Regions from separate parts of the Homo sapiens genome. Here regions 2, 3 and 4 are each linked to region 1. The links are contacts of gene promoters, found by promoter capture Hi-C in blood cells and fetal thymus (Javierre and others, 2016). All regions are on one chromosome and are shown on one strand. The core of a region is centred on a gene start or on the middle of the fragment in contact, and the rest is flanking DNA. Distances in the headings are between cores, read along the strand shown.

What was found. Contacts are between HindIII fragments. The CHiCAGO score rates a contact against its expected background, and 5 or more counts as called.
Region 2: a contact is called between a fragment that was not itself captured here and the fragment with the promoter of GDF6 in region 1, in 1 of 17 cell types (M1 macrophages). The highest score is 6.2, in M1 macrophages.
Region 3: a contact is called between a fragment that was not itself captured here and the fragment with the promoter of GDF6 in region 1, in 13 of 17 cell types (M1 macrophages, M2 macrophages, fetal thymus and 10 more). The highest score is 10.0, in M1 macrophages.
Region 4: a contact is called between a fragment that was not itself captured here and the fragment with the promoter of GDF6 in region 1, in 1 of 17 cell types (M2 macrophages). The highest score is 5.5, in M2 macrophages.

Annotation. Positions count from the first base shown.
Region 1 is chr8:96,159,483-96,162,182 of GRCh38, forward strand. It overlaps GDF6 (growth differentiation factor 6), which reads right to left and starts at 1,324. Exons shown (of 2, transcript NM_001001557.4): 1 at 805-1,324. The coding sequence starts at 1,210. The HindIII fragment of the contact is 9,891 bases long and covers 1-2,700 here.
Region 2 is chr8:95,899,187-95,901,927 of GRCh38, forward strand. No RefSeq gene overlaps it. Among named protein-coding and RNA genes, the nearest start is that of GDF6, 260 kb to the right of the region's middle. The HindIII fragment of the contact is 541 bases long and covers 1,132-1,672 here.
Region 3 is chr8:95,882,087-95,884,786 of GRCh38, forward strand. No RefSeq gene overlaps it. Among named protein-coding and RNA genes, the nearest start is that of GDF6, 280 kb to the right of the region's middle. The HindIII fragment of the contact is 5,770 bases long and covers 1-2,700 here.
Region 4 is chr8:95,844,443-95,847,142 of GRCh38, forward strand. No RefSeq gene overlaps it. Among named protein-coding and RNA genes, the nearest start is that of GDF6, 320 kb to the right of the region's middle. The HindIII fragment of the contact is 1,159 bases long and covers 742-1,900 here.

The sequences.
Region 1 (2,700 bases), core at 74-2,573:
CCCTCAGGAATAGCGTAGAGAGAGGAACGTCGCCTGGCTGAGAAAGGTGGATGGGCATACCCATGTACCTTTGTGTATTAAGTACCCACAACCTCCGAACTTAGCCGTCCCTGTCCCGGCCCGCCCAACTGCTGCCGCCGCATCTGCAGAAACCACTCGTGTTGAGGCCTCGGAGCAGCCGGGAGCACCACGCTGGAGCAAAAAAGCCGGAGGGCGCAGGGCTCCAGCCCGGCTGACCATCCCACCCAGCGCAGGGACCAACGGAAAACCCGCGCGGCGCCAGGACCAGGGGGCTGCCCGACGCCGCTCGCGGACTAGTTCCTCAGACTGTGGGACTCCCTAGTGCCGGCTTTGCCCAGGGCTTTCCAAGGCTGTCTCATGCCCTAGATCTGCCCCAGCAGCTCAGGCCTTGGACTGCGAACCCAGTATCCCGAGACACCGATTCCATCAGTCCCCATCCCGACCCCTCTCCAGCCGGGTTCATCCGCCTGCTGCCTCCCGTCCTCCACGTTTCCCCCACCAGCCACCAACAAGCGGCAACCACGCTGCCTTCTGCAAAAGAGGAAGAAGGAAAGAAGGGAGAGAGAAAGAAAGGGGGGGAAAGGAAGGGAGGTTTAGAGACTGGAATAGAATCCGCAGCCACATTCAGAAACTTACTCGAGCTTGAGAAAAACAATTTAAGAAAAGTAAAAAGGAAGTGTCCAGAGCAGGAAGGGAATTCACAAATGTAGCCTCCAGCGGGAACAGCTCCCTGGCTGCCGAGCTCCAGCGGGAGGGGAGTCGAGCGTTTTCTTTGCCACTTACCTAGTCCCCTGTCTACAAAGCTGGTGATCGTATTAGCCGACTTGGAAGACTGGAAAAAGCTGGCATTGATGCCCAGCTTCTCAGCGATGGAGTAAGTCCTGTAGATTGACAGCATGTACTCGTGGGGCACCACGCGCGGACCCCTGCCTGGCGGCTCCTGCGCCCGGGGCTGCTGAGCCCGGGGTTCGTCCTGAGGCCGCGGCTGTGGTTCCTGGCCCTCCCGGCCCGCGTCACTGTCGCGCGGCGCCCGCTGCATCTTGCCTTCCTTGCGGCTTCGCATGCCCTTGGTGGAACCCAGCTCGGCGGACGACGAGGAGGATGAGATGGAAGCCTGCTGGAAACCGGGCAAATCCCACAGAAAACTGATGAGGAAGACGGCCGAGAGCAGGACCCTGGGAGTATCCATGGCGGGCAAGTGGCTGCGTCTCCCCAGGAGGCGGTGGCGGCGGCGCAGGACGCGCGGGGCACGGAGCGGCTGGACAGCGGCCGGGGCCCGGCTCCTCGGGCGGACTCGGAGTGCGAGGAGCCGGGTCCCAGCCACACAAACCCCGGCCCCGCCACGCCCCCTCCCGCCCCTCGCCGGGAGGGGAGGAATGGGGAGGGAGGGCAGAGGAGGGGTGGGGAGGGTGGGAGGAGAGCCGGGTGGTGCGGGCCGGAGGTGTGGGGGAGAGGGGCCGCGGTGCGCCGGTGTGGCAGGAAGACGCAGCGCCCCCGCGGGACGCGCGCGGGGTTGCCGGGCGGTGCGCGCGGCGCGGGCCGCAAGCGCTGACCGGGGGAAGGCGGGCGCTGCCGGCCCGTGGCCGGGGAGCAAAGGCTGGCCCGCCGCGCCAGGGTCCCCCTCGAACTCCCGGAGGTGTGGTCCCTCCGCAGCGCGGCCCCGGCTCTCGGTCCTCGCCAGCCGCCTCCACTTTCCTGGGAGCGAGCGGCCCCGGAGGAGGGAAGCGGCGGCGGCGCCCCCAAGAGACAGCTTGGAGCAGGCGCCTCTGCTGCAGGCTGCGTGCTGCCTCGGGGCGGTGGTACCCTCCCTCCTCGGCCCCAACCGCCAGGCCTGCCGTTTGCGCCCCTCAGGGGCCAGCCCGGAGCCAGAGAAGCCTCGCCCTGGGCCAGGCGCAGGGCCCAGCTCGGAACAGCCCCATTTTCTCGGTTGGGTATCGCTCTCCACAAAGACAGGCGTCTATTCCCGACCCTCGAGGTCAGGCAAAGGCCACGAGTCTTTAGAGTTTGGATCGATGCTAAAAGCTGCTGCGCTCCCCTGCAGGCCCCAGCCTCTCCTCTCGCAGTCCCCAACCTCTTCTGACGCAGACTTTAGCTGCTCCACTTCTTCGTCTGCTCCCGGGATCCTCTCCCTCTCGCGGCCTGCCCCCCGCCTCCACTGCATCCCCATTTTCCCTCTCTTCTTTCCCTCCCGCCTGCAGGACTTCCTCCTTCCCCAAGTTCCTTCTGCATTCCAATCCCTCTTCCCCAGCCTGCTTTTCTTCTCACACTGCCCTCCCATCTCACACTGCCTTCCCACCCTCTCTCTTCCCGGCCTCCCCCCTCGCCTTCCAGTGGACCCCTCCCTTTGCAGCTCTACCCCAATCTGTTTCTCTTCAGCCCAGCCTCGCCCCATCACGAGTTTCCTTTATCTGTCCCCAGATTCCCCGTGCCTGTCTTCCCCGCCCACTGCCTCGCTCATTCCTGGGCCTGCACGCTGAAAGGCGATGCGGCGTAGCGCTGCTTCTGTCTGCCACAGTGCTCTGCCCTGGACTGCTATGGGCAGAAGAGTTTCCCTCAGTACTGATTGGGTGCTCAGGCACCAACCATAAAGTACCCTCCTTTAATCGTGCCAACAGCTTTGTGAGGTTGGCGTTGACTATTTTCACCTTCACGGATGGAAAAAAAAAAGACTCAATGGAA
Region 2 (2,741 bases), core at 152-2,651, 260 kb before region 1:
AAGGGAAACTACAATTCAGGGACAATCCAATCATTATAAACAGGCCTAGACATGACAGAGAGGATAGATTAGCACACAGGATCTTTAAAAACTATTATAAATATTAAAAACATTCTTGCCGGGCATGGATTACAATCCCAGCACCTTGGGAGGCCACAGTGGGCAGATCTGGAGGTCAGGAGTTTGAGACCAGCCTGGCCAACACGGTGAAACCCTGTCTCTACTAAAAATACAAAAATTAGCAGGGTGTGGTGGTGGGCGCCTGTAATCCCAGCTACTTGGGAGGCTGAGGCAGGAGAACTGCTTGAACCCAGGAGGTTGAGGTTGCAGTGAGGTGAGATTGCGCCACTTGCACTCCAGCCTGGGCAACAGAGCAAGACTCCGTCAAAAAAAAAAAAAAAAAAAAAAAACCATTATCGAGAATGTGAATGGAAGTATTAACATTATTGGGAGAGACATAGAAGACATTTACAAATAACAAAATGGAACATGTAGAAATTAAAAGTGCCTGAATTAAAATACACTGGATGAGATTAATATCTGTCTAATATCTTAAGACACTGAAGAAGAAAAGATCAATAAACTTGATCAAATAGCAACAGAACCTATACAAATGACACACAGAGAGAAAGAAAAAAGTTGTAGGAGTCTCCATGATATCTATTACAATAGCAAGTGGTCTAATATAGGTATAATGGGATTCTTCAAAGAGGAGAAAAAGATTTTAAAAATTTGAAAAAATCTGAAAAAACAGTTAAAACTGGTCTAAATTTTATAAAAACTATAAACCTATAGGATCAAAAAGATCAATAAATATCACATAAAATAAACATAACAGAAATGAAACTAAGGCACATAGTAAGATTGCTCAAAATCAATGATAAAGAGAAATTTTAAAGACAGCCAGAGGGGGAAAGAGACACGTTAGGTACACGAAACAAAAACATGAATGACATTGTACTTCTCATTATAATTTTGCACACCAAAGGAGCAGGAAGTGACATCTATAAGGCATTAAAAAAAAAAACACTCACTAGAATTCTGTACCAAATGAAAATATCTTTCAAAATTGAGGGTGACACAAATATTTTTTTCAGATATCAGACCCTCAATATAAGAGATGTTAAAGGAAGCTTTTCAGGCAGAAGGACAAGGACACCAGATGGAAATTTGTATCTACACAAAGGAATGAAGAGGTCCATAAGTGGTAAATATAGAAATAATATTGCACTTGTTTCCTATTGCTGCTATAACAAATTGCCATAAATTTGACTTACAATAACATAAACTTATTATCTTACAGTTCTGGAGGTCAGAAGTCTGAAGTGAGTCTCAGCTAAAATTAAGGTGTTGACAGAGCTGCATTCTTTTCTGGAGGTCCTAGAAAAGAAATGGTTTTCTTGCATCTTCCAGCTTCCTTGTTCATGTCTTTTTCTATCTTCAATGGCTGATCAAGCCCTTCTCGTGACGTCTTCTCTCTGGTTCTGACGTTTCTGCCCCTCATCATCCCCATTTAAAGGTCTTGTGATTTATATTGGGCTCACCTGAGTTATCTAGGCTACTCTCCCTATTTTGAGGTTAGCTGGTTACCAACCTTAATTCAGTCTTCAAACTTAATTGATTCTTGCCTTGTAATGCAACAATCACAGGTTCTGGGGATTAGGATTTGGAAAGCTTTGGGGGTCACTATTCTACTTCCCATAAATATAAATTTCAAACTTCCCAGTTTTAATCCTTTTAAAAGACAATTCTCTGCTTAAATAAAAAATAATAACAAAATATTGCAGGAAACGCAAACAAAAAGTAACTTCATCTACTTGCAGAATTATTTAAATAAAACAAAAAAGGGAACTTTATAATGGTAAGGAGTACATTTCACAATGAAGATAACAGAGATATGAATATCTTTGCACCCAAAGCCATTCCTGAATACAAAAACAAGACTAGAACTCTTATAACAAATCTAGAAATTTAATAATAAAACAAGAAGGTAAAAGGCAATTCTTCTAAAAGTTAAAAACAAAAAGTTTTAAAACAAAACAATATCATCACTAACAAAAAACTTCTCTTTTAAATCTTGTGTCAAAAAAAGAAAAAAAAAGAAAAAAGAAAGAAATCTGAAGGAGATTCTTGGAAGATGACAACAATGTCATCACAGATTTTTGAAAAATCTTTCCAAATCCCCACATTTAAAACAGAAGCAACTAGATAGAAAAAGCAAATTCCACAGACACTATTTATATTAAAAACTGAATGATGAGATGGTCTGTGAACTCCCAAATGCAACCAGGTGAGAGCAAAGCACCAGGAGGCCCACCTGAGAACAGCAGCTGAAATGGAGAATGTTTTTCCTAGTTCAATCGTAGACCAATGCAAGGGGCTCACAGGGAGATTTAAAGGAGTTGGATCAGTCTAAACTCCACATGCTCTCAAAACTGACTTTCCAGGGCTCCCTTCCAGGACAGAATTTTACACTGAGGAAAACCTGTTGGAAGGAGAATCAAAATTGAGCAGAAAAGGGTCACTAGAGATGAAGGCAAGAGAAGATTCAAATAACAATGGGAGAGAAGAATAGTGCCAAGAAATCTCAGAAAGTGAGCCATCATATTTTTTAACACAACACCCACCCCCCTAAAATGAATGAATGAATGAATGAATGAAAAATAAAGAAAAGAAGAGAAGAAAAAAGACAAAAAAGAAAAAGCAATAAGCAAAAAACAGAAGGAGCTCTGTGAAATTTA
Region 3 (2,700 bases), core at 195-2,694, 280 kb before region 1:
ACTCCCCCCACCCCATGACAGGCCCCAGCGTGTGATGTTCCCCTTCCTGTGTCCAAGTGTTCTCATTGTTCAATTCCAACCTATGAGTGAGAACACGTGGTGTTTGGTTTTTTGTCCTTGTGATAGTTTGCTGAGAATGATGGTTTCCAGCTTCATCCATGTCCCTACAGAGGACATGAAATCATCATTTTTTATGGCTGCATAGTATTCCATGGTGTATATGTGCCACATTTTCTTAATCCAGTCTATCATTGTTGGACATTTGGGTTGGTTCCAAGTCTTTGCTATTGTGAGTAGTGCCGCAGTAAACATATGTGTGCATGTGTCTTTATAGCAGCATGATTTATATTCCTTTGGGTATATACCCAGTAATGGGATTGCTGGGTCAAATGGTATTTCTAGTACAAGATCCTTGAGGAATTGCAACACTGACTTCCACAATGGTTGAGCTAGTTTACAGTCCCACCAACAGTGTAAAAGTGTTCCTATTTCTCCACATCCTCTCCAGCACCTGTTGTTTCCTGACTTTGTTTCCTCACACCTTTGTTTCCTCACACCATTCTAACTGGTGTGAGATGGTATCTCACTGTGGTTTTGATTTGCATTTCTCTGACTGCCAGTGATGATGAGCATTTTTTCATGTGTCTGTTGGCTGCATGAATGTCTTCTTTTGAGAAGTGTCTGTTCACATCCTTTGCCCACTTTTTGATGGGGTTGTTTGTTTTTTCTTGTAAATTTGTTTGAGTTCTTTGTAGATTCTGGATATTAGCCCTTTGTCAGATGGATAGATTGCAAAAATTTTCTCCCATTCTGTAGGTTGCCTGTTCACCTGATGGTAGTTTCTTTTGCTGTGCAGAAGCTCTTTAGTTTAATTAGATCCCATCTGTCAATTTTGGCTTTTGTTGCCGTTGCCTTTGGTGTTTTAGACATGAAGTCCTTGCCCATGCCTATGTCCTGAATGGTATTGCCTAGGTTTTCTTCTAGGGTTTTTATGGTTTTAGGTCTAACATTTAAGTCTTTAATCCATCTTGAATTAATTTTTGTATAAGGTGTAAGGAAGGGATCCAGTTTCAGCTTTCTACATATGGCTAGCCAGTTTTCCCAGCACCATTTGTTAAATAGGGAATCCTTTCCCCATTTCTTGTTTTTGTCAGGTTTCATATGGAACCAAAAAAGAGCCTACATTGCCAAGTCAATCCTAAGCAAAAAGAACAAAGCTGGAGGCATCAGGCTGCCTGACTTCAAACTATACTACAAGGCTACAGTAACCAAAACAGCATGGTACTGGTACCAAAACAGAGATATAGACCAATGGAACAGAACAGAGCCCTCAGAAATAATACCACACATCTACAACTCTCTGATCTTTGAGCAATATCTAATTTTTAAGACCTTGTTCTTTCCATCAAATGTTTAGTACCACTCAAAGAACTCAAAGTTGCTTGAGATGCTGGTTTTGAAATTTGAGGTAGTCTCAGAGCTCAGTCCTATGTGGGTTTTCTGTTTCTCACTTTCTTTCCTTTTCTTTTCTCTTTGATTTATAGCATTTTCCAGCTTCCATGGTGTAAATACTTACATTATTGCTTATTTCCATCTACCAACATGATGTCTACCACCTTGTGAAATTCCTGAAAGTTTAATTATCAGCTTTAATGCTATCTTAAGTGCTTTTTAGATAACACACTTAAAACTCCTGTCAACATCCTTGTAAGGAATATTCCATTTATTAGCAATGTTTTACAGATGAGAAAACTGAGGTATAAAAAGTAACTTGCTCAAAATCAAATGGGTACCAAGTGGCAGATAAGGACTTGGGCATGGGTGTAGCTTTCCCCTGCTCTTTTCTGCTATGCTATACTGCCAGCCTCAGACATGGGGGTGACCTTTCAGCTTCATTCTGTCTCTAAAAAAGAAGACAAAACTTCAGCCATTGATTCCAAAGTTCCCTACCTGGTTTTCTAGCCTCCCATCTCTCCATTCCATCTTAAAGGCTACTGACAAAACTCTTTCTAAAGAAAAGAGCTGAACATATAAATCCCCTGCTCAAATGTCTTCAGTTTGCTACTACATATGGGATAAAACACAAATTCCTCATCTGCGTACTCATGTCCTCTGTGATCAACTCTAAATGCCCCTTTTTTAAAATCTTTGTTATGGCTCCCCCTGAAAGTTTCATCTGTTTCAAATATACCAAATTAATTGTGATTTCTAACAAGCCATGTGCTCTGTTGCGTTCACTGAATGCTCATCTCTCCACTAAATTCCTACTATCTTTGAAGGTCCTGTGCAAATGCCACTTTCTCTCTTACAGAGAGAAAGATGGTAGGATCTTTGTAAGGTCCTCCCACATGCCCCCAGTGGGAATAATTTTTTTCTGCTTCCCAACTGTCCCACTACATGTGGCATGTCACACCTCTATTATAGCACTTACAACAATATGTTTTTATTATAGTTATATTCTACAGAGTGGGAAATATGTCTGTCTACCCTACAGTAGAATGAGTCTTTGAGAGCGGGGGCATGATCCATTCCTCTTTATATCTTTCCCACAGATCCTAGGAGAGTGTCTTGCTAATAGCAAGAGCTGAATAAATATGTGAATTTCATTGCTACATGGGATCAATGAAAATCTAAGTTTGGTGTAAACTGAGTATCCATTCTCATCTTTTCCAGATCATGGTGTACTATCCACCCTAGGTC
Region 4 (2,700 bases), core at 71-2,570, 320 kb before region 1:
AATACAAAGATCAAGGATTCCCAGATTCTGAGATTCTCAGACTCCCCAGGTAGAGGTCACTGGAGGCTGTGGTCACATGCCAGCACAGCAGATGGAGCCAAGTTTCACAATTAAGAATGGGAACCATGTTTCAATATTTAACTGAGATGTTACAGGTCCTGACAAATTGGTAGGAATACCAGCCATTGAGCTACAGCAGGGTGCGGGAGGCTTCCTGCTGTGTCTAGGGCTGACCTTCAGTTGCAGGATAATGAATAAGGCCTGCTGGGTGAACGCTGGAAGAATTAGGGCAGCAGGGGTTACTTGGGGATCAAGGAAATAGTTATTTACTAACCACACAGAAATATGTCAATATTTTAGCAAATAGTCCAAGAGAGTTGAGTCTTACCAGTTCCTAGGTATACGGTTTTGTCTAATAACACCACCTCTTCGGGCTTTAGTTTTCTAGTTTGTGTGAAAGCTACATGTTTACTAGGCTCAGGTACTTGAAGTTCAAGGTATGGTCATTGCCATGTTAACAGTTTTTCCTTAAGTTTATTGACTGGCACAAAAGCCCCACCTTCCAAGGGTACCCATTTCCTTCACTTTCTTTCCTTTTCCATTCCCCTTTCTGTCACTCAGGAATTATCTAGAAGGGTAACAGAGGTCTCTCTCACATAATCAGTCAATACTTTTAGCTTGACATGATGAACTTAGCTTTTGAAAGTAACCAGTTGACACTTTGAGAATAAAAATCCAGAAAGCTTTACATGGGCCAGGGAGGATTTTCAACCTCATCCAAGAGACCGGATCTACTTACATGGAACAATTAAAATCTTTTAGTAAGCAACAAATTGTAAATTAATACTTTTGTATGTACTTGAACTGTTCTCAATTCCCTGGATTTTTTCATCTTGTGATCTGGGTATTGGATTTTCCAAATTCAAAAAGATGAAGCAAGTGACAGACAATACATGGGGCATGGTATTAAAGGCTAGCTGAATTGATTGAGCTGTGGTGAAAGTTCAGCAACCCCCAGCTTGGAAGCAGCTCACCTAGAAAATATTTTCATCATTTCAAGTTGTGTCACCCAGAAAATAATGATAGACTGTTCACCATTTCTTCCATAATCTAAAATAGCAAGAAATGGGCATAAGAAACAATTATAAAGAAGTATTCCTGAGGTACCAGAATTCCTGAGTGAAACAGCAGAATTTTGTGCTTTTACAATGTTTAAAATCAAAGCAGAGATTCTTCTCTGGAGACAGCAGGATGAAAAGATGACTTTTAAATGTTCGATCCAGTTTTGTATGATGATCATTAAAGTACTGAAGACAGTAAAAGCCAAAAATTATGTGTGAGGCTTTGTAGGCAAGGAATAGGTGTCAGTTCTTTAAAAAACAAATGAAAAAAAAGGTCTGATTTTCTTTCCTGGATTTATTGTAAAACCATTTGCAGAGGAATTTGGGGGAAACCCTGGAAGAAGAGATCATTTTATGTAGTAAATAACTCCAGCCAAAGACCAGACACGTAGCTCACCCCTGCCTGACAGAGGAATTGGGAAACCCACCAAGCAAAGAGAGGATTATGTTGTATTGGAGCTAAATCTCAGAAGAAAATATTGCTGGGAGGATCTTCATACTTTTGTTTCTAATACAGAGGATGGAAAAAGGAGGGAGATAATGACCACCAACAGTGAACAGGAAAATGTAACTAAATATGGCAGCTCCAAGAAGATAGATGGGAGGGGGAATCCCAAAGCGCTCAGACTCACTTTAGAGTTTACAGGTGATGATTCCCTTTGATTCATGGTTGCCGTTCTTAAGGGCAAAAGACTTAGTTGGCTAAAGATGGGATACAAACAGAAAGAAAGGCTACTCCAGCTGGGAAAACAAAAGATGTTTGGGATGATGTTGATGAAAGCTTTTTTAAAGTGAGAGGTACAGAGAGAGTGTAAGAGGAAAGCAGCTGGAGTTTTTCCAGGTCGGCTAATGATGCATGGAGCTGCTGACACAGCAGTTCATCCAGCCAGTGCAAGAGAGAGCTGCCTTAGGGACCTGCCCTTTCTCGTAGGGCTGGACCCTAAGAGCCCAGGGCGGGGAGGCTTCACCACTTGGTTTATAAGACTTTTTTTTTTTTTTTCCTTGAGCTCTGATTTAAATGCTCACCACTGGGACACACTTAACTGAAACTCAGCTTAATTTTCCCCTTTTTGGAATTTGTCCCCCTTAGCAGATATTTAGTTTCTAAGATCAGAAATCAGCAGGGGAGAGGACGTTCATCTGGGTTATAAAATAAAATGAAACGCCTCCACTTTTTCGTCCTCGGTTACTCAAATGCCTGGTACTTTGCTCATGAGGCTGAGAAAAATCCAAACTGGATGTAAAATGCTCACCTAGTTGGTGATCATTTACTCATCCCAGGGACTAAGGGAACTGTGGGTCTTGATAATTATGTCCGCTGAGTTGTGAGGCTGTGCCTATGTGATTGGAAATGTAAAATACGGTGCATGATGAAATGTTGCATTTTAATCTCTCTTTGTTCAGGCTGTTTCTCCAATTGAGACAAGATGACATCCAACACAAAGCCAACATATTTGATGTTCTTCAAATTTATAACTTCAAATTGCAGATCCCGTTTCACTGTCTTCCCATTATCAGTAAGTGATCTCTAACCCCTCCTTACATAATTTCAGTAGGGGTAACTTACTGCCTCTGAAAG